2 separate regions of the Homo sapiens genome follow, and region 1 is linked to region 2. The links are contacts of gene promoters, found by promoter capture Hi-C in human tissues and cell types (Jung and others, 2019). All regions are on one chromosome and are shown on one strand. Each heading gives the region's core, a stretch centred on a gene start or on the middle of the fragment in contact. The rest is flanking DNA. Distances are from core to core; before and after follow the strand shown. Region 1 overlaps GRM8 (glutamate metabotropic receptor 8). Region 2 holds the start of GRM8 (glutamate metabotropic receptor 8).

Region 1 (3,939 bases), core at 658-3,157, 61 kb after region 2:
CTATCACCAGTAGGGGTGGCTCATCTTTGAGATAGGGCCTCATGTGTCTTGCTCATGCTTCAAGTATAATTCATGTAATGACAGTGATTGAATGCTGATGCTTTTGGGATCTTATGTTGTATTTTTATGTTTGTTTTTGTTTTCTGATGCTTGGATCAATGATGAAAATGTTTCCTGAAAACAGATACTGCAGAAAGAGCTCTTTGGATGGGCTGGAATCTAAGTTTTAGAGATGCCAAAGCTTATGAAAGCAGTTTCCTAAACTGTGAGAGTATTTTTTTCCATCTTTTTCTGTCACTTGCAAGACTCTGTAACATTTGAGAAGGTGATTATTAGGATATGTTCCATAGCTACCGTTCTTGACCCAAAGTATTACCAATTGCTCAAAAGAAGCTACTACCTCACTCTTTAAGCCTCAGAAAGACTCAAAGCCTCTTGAAATGCCATGGGAGTCTTGCTGCAAATTAGAGTTGATATGAGAATTAACCGACCTCACATTTGCTTAGAAGCTTTGTCCTGCGGAGTTGACCTACCTGCTAGGGGATTCATTCCAATAAAGAAAAGTAGGTTTTGACCTAATTGGGTCATCCAGCAAATAAATGATATGAAAATTTCAAGCTTCACCACAGCCTGAAACATATGCTTGGGTCAATGGTGTAAACTCTCTCTTCCATTGACCAGCACTTTGATTGGACATTGATGGAGGTTATGGCTTTTACATTCTCATTTATGTTTGAAGGTTGTATGTATGATGATGTTGTGTTCTTTTGTCGAGAAGAAAAATATTAAAAATACCAACATGTATTAAAAGCATAAAAACAAATTTGTGTTATGCATTTACTTTGAGTAAGGCTCAATGTTAGCCACTTAGGAGCATAACTGGACATTCAAATATGGTTTTATCCTTAGAAAATGTGTAATCTATTAGGGAAACAGTGAATACTTACATAAGTCTTATGGTAGCTATATGGACAGTAGAGAAATTAAAAGTATTGTTTCTCTCTGGAGATCGCACTGACTTTGGATTTGGAGTACTCTAAGAAATTGGACCTTAAAAGATGAGTAAAATATAGGTGTGGAGAGGCTTGAAGGTGGGAAACATGAGATACCTTTAGGGGAAGGGGATAAATAGGTCAGTCTGGCCAGAGCAGGGTCAGAGTGTGCATACAGAAAGTGGGAGTGGGTGAAAGCAGAAGGTGTGGACTTGCTGTGTTCCAGCTTGATATCTCTTCGCCAACAAGGCTTTGGGCAGCTTCAGGCATGATTAGACATTTTGTTTTAATAACATGAAGAATGTAAGGATGGCAGCCCAGTCCTTGTACTTGCGTAGAACATGACCTTCATGTTCAGTGGTACCAGGGGTTCCTTTGCTGTGTACAACGTAAAGTGCTCCCTGGCTTGGAGTCATATATTTTTTATGTGTCTCAGACTTCTTTCCTTTGTGAGCCCTGATGGGCTCCCTGAGACTCGTGATAAAGCACAAACCTATCGGGTGAGAGCAGATATGTCATAAATTAACACACAGGAGCTCAGAGAGCTTTCTTTGGAATAGTCTAGAATCTGAGACCACAAATTGCAGTATCTCCCAGAAACAAGATTTTAGAGTTCATCTCCCTAGAGAAGTAACTTCCTCCACTCACACCCCTGCCTGAGGAATTTTAAACAACAATGACAAACTGCAAATGGACTAAAATTTAAACGAAGCTTTAGTATCTGTAACAAACTTTGGTTAGCTATTCAAAATAATGATGCATAATTTGGTAGCATAAAACATATGTTCTTCTTTTATGCATTTGCTCTGTTTACTTCCTCCAAGTTTTTATTTGAAAAGGTATTTCACATATATTCTGTGCCCCAGGTAGAATTTCTTAATCAGAATATTGTGTAGATCTCTTCATGTTGAGTTTACTTATAAGGTGGCAATACATTAATAGGAGTAGCAGTTGTTAAACACCATTTTACAAAAAAGGGGAGAAACGTGTTTCATCAGTTTGCTACCACAAATTGAAACATACATGCAAAACCAAGAGTTGTAATAAATATGACATAAGTTAACAGAGCATGGAAGATAGAAAAATGGAAAATGGTGTCCCTAAATCAATTTAATGCGGTACCAGCCCCAAATAAACAACAGATTGGGCCTCTTCAGCAAAACACCCTAGAAAAACGAAGCTTGTCAGAAATTCTTCACAGTATATTCTTCATCATATTACAGCAGAGATTATCTGACAGAATTAAGCAGAAAGTCAGTTATGAGAAATTTGTCCTCTTGGTAGCTAATGTTGAAAATATTATTTATATTAACAGGCAAAATAGGCTGGTAGTACACAAGCAATTTTCTAAATTTTATGGATGTGGTTCTGCCCATAAATCTGTGTGATGATGGCATATCTCTTATGAGACTACATTACCTTTCAGGTTACTATAATTGCACTGAATGAAGAGAATGTCCACTTGAAGATTAAGGCATCAGAGTGATAGTCACTAGCAGATAGACAGGAAAAAGGTCCTGGTCTTCAGCAACAAAAGAAACTTTCCAATTAGCTATAAATGAATATAATTTGAACACTGACCCCTTTTATATTCATTATATTCTCTGGAACTATTTCATTGCTAGAAGGTTAAGGGATTGAAATTAAAACACTCTCCTTTTTTATATGATAAAAACAATGTAGGTAGTTAAACTGTCAAATGCATTGAACCCAGAAATAGAGACTCTGACTTTTGTAGAGATGAAATGTAATTTCATTTCAGCATTCTTTCAATGTGACGCTTCTTCTGATATTGCAGAGTTATTTAGTCTTGGCCCTGATGTAAAGGAGTTGGCATTTCTAAAATATAAGCTTACATAATTGAATCAGATGAGAAATACAAATCTAGGAATCAGAATCTAATACTTTTCATTTTGTCAAACCTGTTAAATGAGAGTATTAAATTTAAAATACTGAAATAATTTTTTAATCTATTCATAATCCTTGTTATATCAGATAGGATATTTTAATTCTCCTCTGTAAAAATTGGAAAAATGTACTGTTGTCATAGACTTACATAAACGTTCAAAGCTTTTAGTAGCTCATAAAAGTGTTTTACCAGACCATTTGACTAAAGAATACCCATAGAAGAAAGAAATCAATTCATTCACAGCATGATTTTTTTTACCTCAAGCTAATATTTAACTAATTATAATGACAATAAGAATGAGTTAAAAAAATAATGTCTGAGCTAGATATTTATTAGAAAAAATAAGCACTGTCTTTTAGTTTGGTTACTTCAGAATCTATAAATATGCATGGGTTCCATCTTTGCAATTCATAAATTCATAATACTCTGCTTTTTATTTTTATGTAAATATACCTGGGGTAGACTGCATCACTGGTCTTAATTCTCCATCTCTCCCTGTACCACTTCCTTTGCCATTTAACTTTACAGTTCATTTCCACTGAGGGCAGGACATTTTTTTTTTTTTTTAAGACCGAGTCTCGCTCTGTCGCCCAGGCTGGAGTGCAATGGCACGATCCCGGCTCACTGCAACCTCTGCCTCCAGGGTTCAAGCAATTCTCCTGTCTCAGCATCCTGAGTAGCTGGGACTACAGGTGTGTGCCACCACACCTGGCTAACTTTTGTATTTTTAGTAGAGATGGGGTTTCACCATGTTGGTCAGGCTGGTCTCGAACTCCAAAGGCAGGACATATTAACAATTCTCTGTTCCTGGGCTCTGCTGTGTGGCTTGCTTTGGCTACTAGAATGAGGTAGAGATGAGGGTATACCAGCTCTGAGCTTAGACCTCAAGAGCCCTTGTGTATTTCTAGTGGCAAGCTTCTCTTCCATCACCATGACAACATGTCTGCATAGCCTGCTCTAGAGGATGAGAGATACGTGGAACAGGGCAGAGGAATCCCTGTTTCCCCAGCCAAGGCCAGCTGATATCAGCTAACTGCC
Region 2 (3,784 bases), core at 760-3,259:
AGCGTCTTACACGCAGGCGTGCAACCAGGAAGTCCACCCAGCCCCATCTCCGCATAAATTAGGAGCTCTTCCCTCTTCCCACCTTCCTTGTCCCAAGTGGCACCGGACACTGATCACCCTCTTCAGAGCTGCACTAGACATTCACAGGGAATTGAGGTTCCCTATGCAGAAAGGTTTTCAGACAGAGGACCCAGCCCATTTTCTCTCTCCAAATCCTCCTCCCTCCCTCTTTTGTGGTTGCAGCTATAAAATAATGATTCAACAATCAAAGAGCCTCTCATGAGATGGGAGAAGGAAGGGAACGAAAGGGGAAGAGGTGCCCTGGGCTGAAAACCTGTAGATTTTTTCTAAGTGACAAAGGGCAAGGGTCCTTTTTTGAAATTAGGAGAGAGACAGCTGTTTCCTCAATCGAAACTTCGCACATTACAACCAGCCTTGGGAAAAGCCAACACCACCAGGGAGGAAGTGCTATGGGGTTTTGAAGCCAGACACTGATTTCTGGCTGTAATACTTTCCAGCCGTGTCTCTAAGCCTCGGCTTCTGCCTCCATCTGTAGAGTGGGCTTAATAATTTTGACCATCTCACAGAGTTGATGTGAAAATTAAAATAACCCGAACAGAACAGGCGATATATACAGGAATTAATGAAAGATTCCTGACATAATGCTTATAAGTTCATGATGCTTAGGAAGATAAAATTCATTGTAGAGATGCCGAACGGGGGTCTAGAGCTTGCCTTTTCGGGGTCTCTCCCGTCCTTCTCCATCCTCCTTATCTCCTGGGCTGCCCCCTCTCCCCCCGCGCCCCGCTCTCCCTGGCTCGCCCGGGCCTAGGGCGCCGCCTGCAGTTGCGCGCGGCCGCCTCTAGATGGAACTTTCTCACCAACGCAAGGCCCGGCCGGAGCAGCTACCCGGGAGCTGGGCGGCGAGGGGCTACTTTCTCTCATTCCGGCGGGTGCAGGATCGGGGGGCCTGGGCAGTAACTAGTGGGGAGGAGCGCTGGACTGTGCACGTCGAGCCCGGCAGGTTTCCGCATGCGGCATGCGAAGGGAATCCCGAGGTTTCCCTGCAGAACCCGAGCACGGCTCCCCCGGAGTTTCCTGCCCCGCGTCTGCGGCTCCTTGAATCATCTCAATAAAATGACCGTCCCGGTAGCCACCCATGCCCCTTCCTGCGCAGTGCCCGCAGCGGACCGCGCTGTGTGGTACCTCGAGCCCTGGGGACTCTGTTGCACGCGTCCCTCAGACCCTCGGGGGCGGGGAGTGGGGAGACAATCGCCAGAGCCGCGGGGCGGGACAAATGGCGGAACCGCCGCGCGGCGCCAGGCAAACTTTGCAAGGGAACCGCGCGGCTTGCCGGCTCTACTTTAAGCATTCCCGAAAAGAAAGCATGTGGCGGGACACTTGTCATCTACCATGTGTTATTCTCGGTGACGCTTTCTGGAGCTGTGTTCACCGGGGACCCGGGCTCGCGGGTGCTGCCCGCTGTGCTCGGGCGGGCGTCGCGCCTCCCCGCGCCGGTCCCGGGCTCGCCAGGCAGCCGGAGCCGCTGGGCTCCTCCACAACCATATTCCTTCTTCTACCGCTCCCGCTTCTTCCCACCCTCTCACTCTGTAGTTGGGTCCTCCCCTTTTTCTTGGGGGCGGGGAAGGGGGGATGATTTTTAAAAATCAGAACTATTGACATTTCTGGTCTCCTCGTCGCTTCAGGCTGAAGAGCGGAGGGGGATCCGCGGGCCGAGGGTCCCCCTCCCTGCCCGCGCCAGGGCCGCTGGGTGACACCGAAATCCAGAGGCTCCCGCCCCTCGGGGGTTCCTCCTCCCGCTTCCCGAGGTGACTGGTTGGCGCGAAGCGATTGGCGATCCCGGGCGCGATCCTGGCCGCGGCTCCCCGCGCCGCGCCGGGTGAATGGCCGCGGGCGGAGGATCGGGAGGCGCCGGGCGCAGACCAATCGCGGCCGCCGGTGGGAGTATTTGTTATTCACATGGAAGAGACTTGGCGCCTGCTAGGCCAGCTCAGCCCCCTCAGCCCAGAGATCAGCCACAAGTGCGGCCGCTGTGCTCGCCTCACGCGGCGGCGGCGGCGGCGGCGGCGGCGCTGACATGGAGCTGCGGGCCCCCGGCGGGCTTCCTCACCGCGCCCTCTGCGGGGAGCAGGGTAAGACTCGCCGCCCGGCAGCAGAAAGCGGCTCCGAGGAAAGCAAGTGCCGAACCACGGGACAAAAAGCCCCTGGCCCCCAAACTTCCCCAAAACGCCCTGCTTGTTGGAAAAGGAGAATCCCCCCGTTTTATTCCCCTTTCCGTTTTCTTCTCTAAAACCTTTCAGCGGACAGCCAGGTGCACCATTCCTTCTCATATCACTCTAGTGATTTGTTTTTCCTGAGCACAAGTAGATGGCCCTGCATGTCCGTAGTCTGTGAGAGAAATAGCGGGCGGAGGTGACGGGAATGGGGGGAGAAGGAGAGTGGGCACCAGGGGGCGAGGGGCTGGCCGGGCATTGGAGCTTGATTGGGTGTCTGTTGATTTTACGTTGCAAAGAACAAGGCAGCCACCCCTCTTGTCTGCCCATGATTACATTACAGTAAAGAGGTTCAGAAAAGAGGGAGACTTTACCCGGAACTCCCAAGGCTTGGAGATGTGATCCCCCAAAAGTTTAGTCGGCGAATGGGAGACTGAAGGGTGACGGGAAGGGGGCAGGCGCGCTCGGCGCTCTGACTGGGCGTGCGGCGGCAGGATTTTAAAGCGCTCTGCCTCGGATCGTCTGCCCTGGGTGACCTCCCGGACCTGCCCTGGTGGAATCCGGACTTGCCCCGCCGAGATGACGAGGTACCTTCGTTTCGCGAACCTAACAGGAGGGATTTCTGAAGTTAGCGGCTTCCGGGATGAGTCGGGGTAACCCCCGCCCTCTGAGCGTGGGCTGGATGGATGTCTAACCAGGATCTAGGGAGGATGGGGGTCGCGGGGGAAGCCGGGCGCTTCGGGGTCCTCGACACCCACATCCCCGCACGGCGCACGCTCTGCCTCGAGTTTGCGTTCTCCGAGTTAGCACGGCGAGCTTGGGATTTCCGTGCCCCTCTTTTGTGGCTTTCGAGAAACGCCGGAGTTCCGTGTCCTGCTGGGGGTTGGGGGGATGGAGAAAAGGTCTCGGGGATCTTGTTTAAAAAGCAAAGGCAAACGCACCCCAACAGCTCCTCGGTAGCTCCCGCGGCTGGCGCGGCCCCAGTTTCGGGCGGCCCCGCGCGGGGCGTGGGCGCGGGCGCTCGGGCGGCCAGGTGCGGCGGGGGCGGAGGCTGCATCCCCAGCGCGCCGGAATGCCCCGGGGCGCGGGAAAGGCAAAAGCAGCCTGGCGCTCTCCCCACGGCCCCAGTCTCTATCTACCCAGAACCCGGCTTCAACAGCCCAAGGAACTGAGAAGAAAAAGGAACCTGCGCTGGGAAACAGGGGCTCCTGGCGGGCTGAGTGGTCGCTGTTATGGTAGAGATAGAAACGGAGAGGTAGAGATGGACCGCTCAGCCATGCCAAGCGCGAAGCCCATCCGCCCAGCCAGAAAGCTCGGATATCCCTTGAGCTTCGTACAGTTGGTGAAAAAATAACAGAATCACCAAAAAAGAAAAAAAAATTCCCTTCGTCTGACACGCGCTCCCTTGGTGCAAATGAAATGCGGAGGGACACGCGAGTCACCCAGTTGCGCAAAACCGCACCCCCGCGGTTCCCTGGGGAATTACTTCCCCCGTGGCCCAAACTGTGAAGCCTGGTGTCAGAGAGTGTCTGCGCACCCAAGATAGCGGG

Evidence for each region. The method cuts DNA at HindIII sites, captures the fragments that hold promoters and counts their contacts. A contact is called where the count stands out against the background at its distance.
Region 1: a contact is called between a fragment that was not itself captured here and the fragment with the promoter of GRM8 in region 2, in 3 of the 25 tissues and cell types used here (hippocampus, neural progenitor cells and psoas muscle).

What each region holds. Positions count from the first base shown.
Region 1 is chr7:127,190,073-127,194,011 of GRCh38, reverse strand. All of the region lies in intron 2 of GRM8 (glutamate metabotropic receptor 8), which reads left to right. Among named protein-coding and RNA genes, the nearest start is that of GRM8-AS1, 23 kb to the left of the region's middle. The HindIII fragment of the contact is 3,064 bases long and covers 376-3,439 here.
Region 2 is chr7:127,251,166-127,254,949 of GRCh38, reverse strand. It overlaps GRM8 (glutamate metabotropic receptor 8), which reads left to right and starts at 2,009. Exons shown (of 11, transcript NM_000845.3): 1 at 2,009-2,153. RefSeq lists a silencer at 742-801 and an enhancer at 922-1,171. The HindIII fragment of the contact is 12,389 bases long and covers 1-3,784 here.